Regions from separate parts of the Homo sapiens genome. Here region 2 is linked to region 1. The links are contacts of gene promoters, found by promoter capture Hi-C in blood cells and fetal thymus (Javierre and others, 2016). All regions are on one chromosome and are shown on one strand. The core of a region is centred on a gene start or on the middle of the fragment in contact, and the rest is flanking DNA. Distances in the headings are between cores, read along the strand shown.

What was found. Contacts are between HindIII fragments. The CHiCAGO score rates a contact against its expected background, and 5 or more counts as called.
Region 2: a contact is called between a fragment that was not itself captured here and the fragment with the promoter of DHX15 in region 1, in 1 of 17 cell types (non-activated CD4 T cells). The highest score is 7.8, in non-activated CD4 T cells.

Annotation. Positions count from the first base shown.
Region 1 is chr4:24,583,146-24,588,534 of GRCh38, forward strand. DHX15 (DEAH-box helicase 15) reads right to left here and starts at 1,409. Exons shown (of 14, transcript NM_001358.3): 1 at 1,178-1,409. The coding sequence starts at 1,248. RefSeq lists silencers at 668-717, 918-997, 1,008-1,127 and an enhancer at 1,308-1,847. The HindIII fragment of the contact is 7,218 bases long and covers 1-5,389 here.
Region 2 is chr4:14,998,483-15,003,610 of GRCh38, forward strand. CPEB2 (cytoplasmic polyadenylation element binding protein 2) reads left to right here and starts at 3,999. Exons shown (of 12, transcript NM_001177382.2): 1 at 3,999-5,128. The coding sequence starts at 4,192. CPEB2-DT (CPEB2 divergent transcript) reads right to left here and starts at 3,563. Exons shown (of 8, transcript NR_038857.1): 1 at 3,456-3,563; 2 at 3,144-3,243; 3 at 2,679-2,747. RefSeq lists an enhancer at 2,988-3,037 and silencers at 3,278-4,137, 4,638-4,947, 4,998-5,128. The HindIII fragment of the contact is 344 bases long and covers 2,915-3,258 here.

The DNA.
Region 1 (5,389 bases), core at 159-2,658:
AATGATACAATTATGCAAAGTATTTGGCTACTCGGGCTTTTGTGGGTTTTGCCTGAATTATCCAAACAGGTCTTTGTACTTCATCAATGAAAACACACAAGGGACAAGAAATGATTTTCACGAAATTGCTTAAATTAACTGCTAAATTCCTCTGTACCTTTAAGGAAAGGAATCTGGAACACCAAGAGTTTGTGTAAGTATTTCAACTCTCAACCTCCACATGGGCGGTGTTTCGCCATAAATACTAAAAACACGTTTTGAACATGATCCCTGTATTTCAAAAGCTACTTATGAAGAAAAGTGGGACATGCATAGAAAATAAATGATGAAAAAAAAAAACAATGCCTTCTAATCCCTCCCCATGGGACGATGTTCAGTAACCAGTTTTAACCAAAGCAGGAAATACAGGAGATGGCGGGAGCGTAGGCAGAGAGCGGAAGTTTGCTAGTATCTACTTTGAAGTGTTTGAATGGACCAAGGCACGCTCTCTCCCGCCAAACTATAAACTCAGTCGCCCCAAAACACCAGCCTTCCAGCCCATCAGGTATATTACTCCACGTTTTCCTTTCTCCCGGCAGGTCCTCTACTCCCACCTCCCCCGAGAACTCCCTATTTGCTGGCTTCTCTCAACTCCCGCCACCCCCATCCCAGCCTACATTATGATCCACGCGCTGCTCTCACTTTCCGCCCTCCGCCTTTCCCGTCTGGAGTGCCTGGCCGCGCCCCCACCCAGGCCCTCCCCACGGCCCCTCTGGCTGGGAAGTGCCTGCTGCCCTTGGAAGCGAATACTCCCACCGCGCCCTCCCCCACCCTCTCCTCCGGCTCCAGGCCTTCCTCGGGAACCGAGGCCACGAGGTCCGCGGTTCACTCCCGCCCGACGCCCTCGCAAATGACTCCCGCTCGGTTCGGCCTGGGGGAGGAGGCGCCCTCATGGCTACTGCAGGCCTCTCCACCCTCCGGACTGGGCTGGGCAGCGGCCCCGTCGCACGCAACCCCCCGCGCCCTTGCCGGGCCGAACGGGCGCCGCGCTTCTCCTACCCGCCGCTAGTGAACCCAGCCCAGAGAGAAACAAAGGCTCGGGCTCCAGGACCCGCTCGGCCAGGCCAGCCCCGGCCCGCTCCCTGCCAGGACCCCAACAAAGCCCGAGCTGCCGCCTCGCGCCCCCGGCCTGGCTTACCCATCGGTCCCCGCACGCTTCTTGCCAGAGGGGTAATCCTCCCCTAGGTCCAACCGGTGCCGCTTGGACATCCTCGCACTCTTCGAACGGGCAGTTATTAAGGAAGAAAGCTGGCTGCTGTATGGGCACAGTCGAGGACAGCCACTTAACTCTGGAGGACCCCCACCCCTCCCGCTACTACAGCCCACACGGTGCGGCCGGAACCAACAGCTAAAATGGCGGCGGCGACGAGGGCTGGGCCTGCGCGCGCGCGCGCTTCCGCAGCGTGCGTGCGTGCGAGTGTGCGTGTGAGCGAGGTGCGCGCGCACGACGCCCAAAGGCGGGAACTCCTGTCCCGCCCGCTGCCTCATTGGTCCGACCTTTCTTGGGTCTCCTCCCTCTTCCTGTAGCTTTCCCCTCCTCGGAGCGGCTGTTAGGAAGAACCTGAAGGCCTTCACTTTCCATTTCAGGCTATCCTTGCCCCTCTGAGTCAAGAAATTGAGAAAGTCTAGTCCTAGTTAGGAAATCCTATTCATTTCTATTACCCCGGCTTTAAGGGAATCTCAGACCCAGAGAGGTTGAGAAACGAATGAAGATCGTACAGCTAATAAGTGGCAGAGCCGGGATTGGAACCCAGCTATTTAGTAACTCCAGATCTGGAACTTGCGGCCACTGCGCTACCCTCAGTTGCAGTGAGGGGCCGCGCGATGGTTCACGCCTGTAATCCCAACGCTTTGGGAGACCGAGGCGGGTGGATCACGAGGTCAGGAGTTCGAGACCAGCCTGGCCAACACGGTGAAACCCCGTCTCTACTAAAAATACAAAAATTAGCTGGGCGTGGTGGCGTACGCCTGTAATCCCAGCTACTCGGTAGGCTGAGGCAGGAGAATCGCTTGAACCTGGGAGGCGGAGGTTGCGGTGAGACGAGATCACACCAGTGCACTCCAGCCTGGACGACAGAACAAGACTCCGACTTGAAAGAAAAAAAAAAATCAATTGCAGTGAGGAAACTGAAGTGAGAAAATGTTAAGGCTTGTCATGATCTATTTTGCCCTTTTCTTGCCCAGCACGGACACCATGCACCCAAGCTATAGATGTTTTTAACTAGAATACAGAGAATTCGCAGTGAGGGCACAATTTGCTTTTTTGTTTTTTGTTTTTCTGTGCCTATTAATGCACTTTCGCAGTGTTAAATAACACCCTGCAAGGTAGTTGTTATTTTGTAGACGTAGACGCAAAGGCTGAGGAAGGTTACATCTCCTAGCCATAAGGGCTGTACCTAAAGCCATAACAAGGAGGTGGGGCAAGATGACTCTAAGGATTTTTGTGGATCTCTCCCCCTAGAATATGTCTGCTTCCTCAGTTGCATTTGTTCCCAGAAGAAATGCACAAGAAAAGATCTGTGGACCATCTGCAGCAGGGTGATCTCTGTTGTTCATGGAATGGCTTGGTTTGGCTGCCCTGGAAGACCATACTCTGGTTCTTATCCAAATCTCAGGACTGCAATTGCTAGGATTAAATGCAACTTAAATATTGCAACTGATGAGGGGTTTGTGTGTTTGTTTTGAGACAGTCTTGCTCTGTCGCCCAGGCTGGAGGACAGTGGTGCAATCTCAGCTCACTGCAACCTCCGCCTCCCGGGTTTAAGCCATTCTCCTGCCTCAGCCTCCCTCCTAGCTGGGATTATAAGCGCCCGCCACCACGCCCGGCTACGCGCCCGGCTAATTTTGGTATTTTTAGTAGAGACGTAGAGACGAGGTGTCGCCATGCTGGCCAGGCTGGTCTTGAACTCCGGACCTCAAGTGATCTGCCCACCTCGGCCTCCCAAAGTGCTGGGATTACAGGCGTGAGCCACTGCACCCAGCCAGCAATTGGTAAGGAGGGTTTTTATTTTTTTGTACCAAATCCACATTGGAAAGTCAACACAAAGAAAAATGAGTATATTTTTCACTTGTGAAATATTCAGTACAACTTTCTATCCTAAATGTACCATAGTCCCTACTTTGTCCCTGGTTTTGCTTTCACAGTACAGTAAGATATTCTGAGAGAAAGACCACATTCACATAGCTTCTATTACAGTATAGATTCTCCTTGACTTATGATGGGGTGATGGCCATCGCAAAGCCATCGTAAACTGAAAATGTTGTAAGTTGAACATGCAGTTAATATACCGATAAACCCATCGTGAAGTCAAAAAATCTGGTCAAACAATTGTAAGTCAAGACTGTCTGTATGTTGTTATAAATGTTTTATTATTAGTTGTTAATATCTTACTGTGCCTAATTTATAAGTTACACTTTATCATAATTACATATGTATAGGAAAAAACTGAAATTAAAATGATGAGTTGGCCTTCTATTATCTGTGGGTTCCTTATCCCTGGATTCAATCAACTGCAAATCAAAAATATATTTTTCTTTAAAAATGGATGGTTGCATCTGTATTGAACATGTACAGACTTTTTCTTGCTCTTATTTCTTAAACAATACAGTATAACAGCTATTTCCATAGCAATTACATTGTATTAGGTATTATAAGTGATCTAGTGATGATTAAGTATACAGAAGAATGTGCATAGGTTATATGCAAATACTGTACTATTTTATATCAGACACTTGAACCTCCACGGACTTTAGTGTCGGCAGTTTCTCCTGGAACCAATCCCTAGTGGATACTGAGGGACAATTGTGTTGACTTTTTTCAGATCATGATGTATAATCACTGGATTCCATCTGATTTTTCTCTTTTTGCTTAATTTTACAAATGAGGGAAACTGAACCCCTAGGTCTTATTGAAGTTCACACAATCAGTTGGTATCAAAGTCAGAATAAAATACAGATTTCACTTGAAGTATTAAAATCTCAGTCTTCAGGTTTCCAGTTTGATGACTGCTATAAAGTGCTCTAAAATTTTGGAGAAATAATCAGGGAAAAAAGTTAGAATTCTACCTGCAGAAGTGCTCCACTCAGATGTCAGCCTCTCATAAATGATGAAAGAGGAACTGAAATCAAGGTGATGAGACTTTTCCCTTGGGCCTAGGTTACAGCTAAAGAAAACCATAACCTCATCAGTTGTGTTGTGACCTGAACAATTAAAGAAAGGCCCTGGGCAGGCGTGGTGGTTCACACCTGTAATTCCAGCACTTTGGGAGGCCGAGGCAGGTGGATCATGAGGTCAGGAGTTCGAGACCAGGCTGACCAACATGGTGAAACCCCGTCTCTACTAAAAATACAAAAATGAGCCAGGCATAGTGGCACATGCCTGTAATCCCAGCTACTCAGGAGGCTGAGGCAGGAGAATCACTTGAACCCGGGAGGTTGAGGTCGCAGTGAGCCAAGATTGTGCCACTGCACTCCAGCCTGGGCAACAGAGCAAGACGCCATCAGAAAGAAAGAAAGAGAGAAAGACAGAAAGGAAGGAAAGAAGGAAAGAAAGAAAGGAAGAAAGGAAGGAAAGAAGAAAGGAAGAAAAGAAGGAAAGGAGGAAAGAGAAAGGCCCTACTTATTGAAGGATAGTGACCTCTCTGGAATCTAGAATAAGGGGAACAAGTGGCCAGAGGCTGCCAGGATGTGCACACTCCTTGGGAAGAAGGGTAGAATTCTAGGTCTAAATGATCCACCCTGGATTTTCAGACATCATTATCCCTGGAGTAGAGAAAAGGCACCCACCAGGCCCTCCACAAACTTGGCTGGAAATATTTCCAGATAATATCCTATTTTCCCTTACTGTTACTCTTTCTCTACTAGACAACCCTCTGGCCTATGACATGGACTTTCTCACCTGGAGGAAATGTCTTATGCAGCTAACCAGCTGCAGGGTCTCAAGTCAACCTAAATTAATAAAAAATAATTGCTAATAGCAAACACATACAAAGCACTATGAGCCAGATGCTGTTCCTTACACATTTGAGCCTATTTGAGACTTACAGCAACTTCAAGTTTAGTCCAATGAATTACTCTTATTTACAGCTGAGGAAACTGTTACTCAAAGAGGCAAGTATTTTGGCCAAGATGACAGTTCTGAGATTCAGCCCAGACAGTGTGTGTGCTTAATTGCTATGTTCTGCTGCGGCTGATAAATAGATATTCTCGTTCCACTTTATTCGTCTAAGGTGTGGTTACTGAAGATAAGTTCTCCCAGTCTGACAAGATGAACATGAACTGATAAAACTTCTGCATTGTCCATGTAGAGAACTAGTTTACAGAACTCTCAGTGGACAAGTGGGGATTTGGA
Region 2 (5,128 bases), core at 1,837-4,336, 9.6 Mb before region 1:
AATCTTTCATGAAAGGGAGATTCAATTTATGTGACAAACTCTATCTTTGTCTTAAGAAATTGCCACAACCACCTCCGCCTTCAGCCACCACCATGCTGATCAGTCAGCAGCCATGAATGTCGAGACAAGACTCTCCACTGACAAAAAGATTATGACTTACTGAAGGCTCAGATGATCATTAGCACTTTTTAGCAGTATTTTTAAATTAATGTGTGTATATTTTTCAGAATAATGCTACTGTGCACTTATTTAAATGTAATTACAAGTTATGTTTAGACTATAATTGAGAACTTATGTTTAGAGTATAATATACTGTAAACATAACTTTTACATGCACTGGGAAACCAAAAAATTGGTGTGACTTGCTTTATTGGGATATTTGCTTTATTGTGGTAATCTGGAACAAAACCCACGGTATCTCTAGGTTATGCCAGTAATTTAAAGGTAGGACAAGCAACATGTTCTGATGGCTTGGATATGATGCAAGAAGGACAGAAGTGGATTGAAGTGAAGAATGACTCCAGGGTTTTTGGCCTGAGCAACCAGAACAATGGAGCGCCACAGGGATTGGGCCTAGTGAGGCAGGGAGTTTAATTTTTGACGTGTTTAATTTGAGGTATCTATGAGACACTCAGTCAAATGGGCAAGTCGTTCAGGCAATGTAAAAGCAGAAAAAGAAGGCAGTAGCTAAAGGAGGGAGAATATAAGGTCAAAAGGTTTTGGCTTTACTTTTCAAAGGTGAGAACTAGTAAAGCAAGTTTTTGTGCACATGGAAGTGTTTCCTGGAGAGGAAAGAGGTCATGATGAAGGACAGAGAGAGAAAACTGTTGGAGCCCATGTCTTGAGTAGGTTAGAGGTAGGATCTGCTCCGCCAGTGGAGAGGCTGGCCTTAGACAGGAGTATGGGCAGATGGGCCATCCATTGTATCGAGAGGGAAGGCAAGGTGTGCAGGGACAGATGCAGGGAGACTGTGGAAGTTTTCCTGTGGTTGCTTCTTTTTTCTCAGTGAAATAAGCATGTAGCTCAGCAGCTGAGAGTGCTACATGCTAGCAGATGCATGTAGGAGAGATGTGACAAGAGGTTTTCAGATTGAGCAGAATGTTTGAAATGGTCTAGGACAGTGGTTTTTCAGTTCATAATCTGATAGAGGGTGTTAAAACCAACTTTGTAATTTGAGATCAAACGTGATTTTAAAATGAAAATAGAATTATAAAAAGGAGTTTGTTGCATTATTAAAAGAATTGCTTAATAGCAGCTTTATTTCAGTTGCATGAGTGTGTACTTGCACATATATTGGGTTGTAGCAAAAATACTTTTAAAAATACTTGCCCAGGACAGTGGGAGTAAATGAATAAGGGACTGTCAAATACAAAGTCAAGGTCCTAGTTAATGATCATGAGTCAAAATATTTTCATGTAAAAAACCAAAAAAATCATTGAATGGACTCATAAGATCTTGGCATGGAAACTGCTAGAGGACCATAGTCCCTCCTCAGTATTTGCTGCTCCTTCTCCCTACCCCACTCCACTCTCCACCCTAGGAAACCTTTTCATTTGAATATTTTCAATAAGGGCAAGATCACCAGCTTACAAGATGTCAGAAAGTAACTTTCTGCTCTAAAAAAATGGGGCCCTCACAAAAGTAGTGAGTAGAGGCCCTGGCAGGATTTGGAATTTGGTGTATTTAATATGAAGTTTGACATTATTATGTAATAACAAACTTGATGGCTTTTCCCCGTTTCAGAGAGCTCTAAATCCTCTAAGACAAAACTAGTACCAGAGCACTAAGAAATCTTGTTTTTGTTCAAAACTCTAGCCCAGAAAGGCACCAGTTAGCTTTTAAAAGTATGTGCTCTCTCCTCTTTACTAACTGCGGTGTTAGTGGATAATTGAGCTAAGGTTTATACCTGTATTTTCCCCCTATTTCAAGATTTGTTGTTGGATCTGCAAATGATTCCAATCAAATACAACTGTACTTGGAAAAAAATCATCCGTTGTTAAGACTTTACATTCCTTAGTTGCAGAAGTAGTTTTTTTTCCTGCACAATACCTTTTAAAAAATGAATATTTAATATGTCAATATATACTCTGAAAATAACCATTTATATTTTAAATTCTGAGCTCAGGTTATTTTCTAGACATTGTAATTTAGAATAAAAATACTTCTCCAGTTCTACATTTTGCCTGACTGTTAAAAATGATTTTGAGATTAATAAGTTGAACCAATTTTCTATTCACCTGACCAAATTCTGAACCATTTGAGTTTTTTAAAAAGTACTTTTTCCTTATTGTAAAGGCAACATAAAACTTGGTTCATTGGACAGGATAGCAGAGATAAACATTATACATGAAGTATAGTTCCCTGGGGCAATGTTGCTCTCTTTCTACCATGTTTATTTCGATTTATATAAATTTGAGACACTGAACAGAAGTAGAATTCAAATAGAGAATGAGGACTTATAAAAATGTACACTCTGCCTACATCAGTAAGAGTATGCTAATTTATAAAATTAAATATTTAATCTTAGTTCACTTGTAAACCAAAATCAAGTAAAGTCTGAATCCACCTTCTATTGCTTTGGGGGTTTGAGTCTATATTCTAGGATTCATTTAATAGTTTCATTTCTCTAAGCATCAAGCAAAACAGTTAAAATTACAAAACAGAAACATAAAGTTCACCTCATCATGTAGTATGGATCACTCTGTTATTCTTTATCTAGACCTTCAAATACTTTATGTAAAATGTTTCTATACAAAAGGAAACACAGGATTAGTTCCTCCTCTAATGCTTCTAAAGAGCTCTACCATGGAAAGCTCTCTCCCTTCCATTTTGCAAGTCTCAACAAGTCTGCTGCTGAGTCAGAACCTCCTTTTTTCCCTGATGTAAGAACTATTTCTCCCTTGAAAATTCATAAAGCTTAGGAATAAATTAGAGTCTCCCTGGGGGGAAGGGGCGGGGACGCCGGAATGAATGTGGTGGGGAGGAGTCCCACGCTGCAGCCCTGATGGCACACGAAAGGCTTTTATGAAGCGGAGCTGGCCCGGGGTTACTATGGGAGCTCGCCGTGGAACCCGTTCCACGCATCCGAGTGTGTAAATAACCACGCGGAGCGTGTTTGTTCCAGGGACTTTGTTCCTTCTTACCCAAGTGAAAATGCCTGGAATATAGCCGAGGCTTCATGTTTACCCTACAGAAACACCCTCGGCGGCTCTACGACGTCGGTGACAGCACTCCTACCAGCGCCTAAAAACAGAAACAAGCTTAGAGGGCGCTACCTAGGGCTACAAGGAGGCCCTAGATCGGGGACTCGGGGTCTAGAGGTGCGCGGCGAGGCGCTCAGCGGACTTCAAGCCGGCAGAGCCCAGACGCTAGTTCACCACAGGACCCCCGGGCTGGGCCGGGCTCCCGCGTTGCGCTGGGGGCCCCTCGGGCGCCTATTTCTACGCGGGTCGCACAGTGCAGGCGCCGGTCGGGGTCCCGGGCCTCAGTTTCCCCCGCGGGCCAGCCCCGCTCTGGGAAGCCCGAGTGGTGCAGCAGGGCTTCTCCCCACCCAGGGCGGAACCGAGGTGACAGGAAGGAGGAGGCACCGCGAGGGGCGGAGACGCGTGCGACCCAGGCAGACTCTGCGCGGATCCCGCGCCAAGGAGGGGCCGTTGCCCAGGAACCGTCCCTCCCTCCCGCGCGTGCTTGCCCTCGTGCGCGCGCCCGCCCAATGCTCCCGACCACTGTTTGCCAGCCGACCCCCACCCCAACCGGCCTGTCCATTTCCCCGGGAGCGGAGAGACCCAACGGGACACGCCGCTCGCTCCCGCCCTCCCGGGAGCGCGAGCGCGCCCTCGGCTGCGTCTGCATAGTAATGAGGGGCGGGGAGGGGCGACGGGGACGCGGTGGCCTCGCGCCCGCGCGTGCCGGGACGCACCGCGGGGGGCGGCGCGATTGTGAGGTGGCGCTGACGCACGTTCCGGGGTTCTTAAGCGGCCAGGGCGGCTACGGCGACTGCGACGGCGGCGGCGGCGGCGATCGCCGCGAGGGGTGGTGGGGCCGAAGTCGGTGCCCCCTGGCTCAGTCACGGTGTCCCTCTCTCACTGACTCCCCCTCCTTCCACCACGGCCGCGCAACCCCAGCGCCGGCGGCTTCCTAGGTGGGGCAGGGGACGAGGAGCGTCTCCTCCCGCTGCCGGCGGCCTGATAAATGAGGGATTTCGGGTTTGGGGTGCTGCAGACCGCCCCGCTCCGAAGTAGCAGTCCTGGGCCCCTGTTCTGCGGCGAGGCGTATGGTCCTTACGCCGTGGGGTCCGTCAACCCGCTGCCCTCCGCCACGCCCTTCGGCCCACTGTCGCCACCACCGTTGCCTGTCACCGGCTTCTTAGAGGCCGCCTCCCCCTTCTCCGTCCCCCTCGGCGGCGGCGCGGGCAGCCCGGCCGCCGCCGCTTCCTCTTCCTCCCCGTTCCTGGCGCATCAGCAGACCATGCAGGATGAGCTGCTTCTGGGGCTGACACAGCAGCCGGCGCGGCCGCTTTCGGGGGCGGCGGCCACGGAGAAACTCCCCGACCACCACCCCGGCGGCGGCACGATCGCGGGTGTGACCCACCTCCTCCCCTCCCAGGACTTCAAACCGAGTCTGCACCACCCCTCCTCCTCCTCCGCCTCCTCCTGCTGCTGCTGCCGCACCTCCTCCCCGCAGGACTTCAGTAAGCGGCAGCAGCAGCAGCTGAGCAGCCAGAAGAGGAAAGAGTTCAGCCCTCCCCACCTTCCCCACCCTCCGGACTCGAAGCCGCCGCCGCCGCCTCCGCCGCTCCACTGCCCCGGTCGGTTCAGCCCGCCGCCGCCGCCAGCCGGCCCGCTCCTCCAGCCGGCGCAGCTCGCTCAGCGCCAGCAGCAACAGCCGCCGCAGCAGTTCAGCCTCCTGCATCAGCAGCACCTCTCGCCGCAGGACTTCGCCCCGCGGCAGCGTCCGGCAGACCTGCCCCCGCTCCCGCAGCTCCCTCCCTCGCCGCCTGCAGCCCCGCGGCGCCGCCACGGAGGCGCGGGCAGCCCTCGCAAGACCCCAGCCGCGGGCGAGGGCAGCGCCGCCGAGTCCCCCAATGCGGGCTTGGCCTCCTCGACGCCGGTGAACCCCGCGCCGGGCT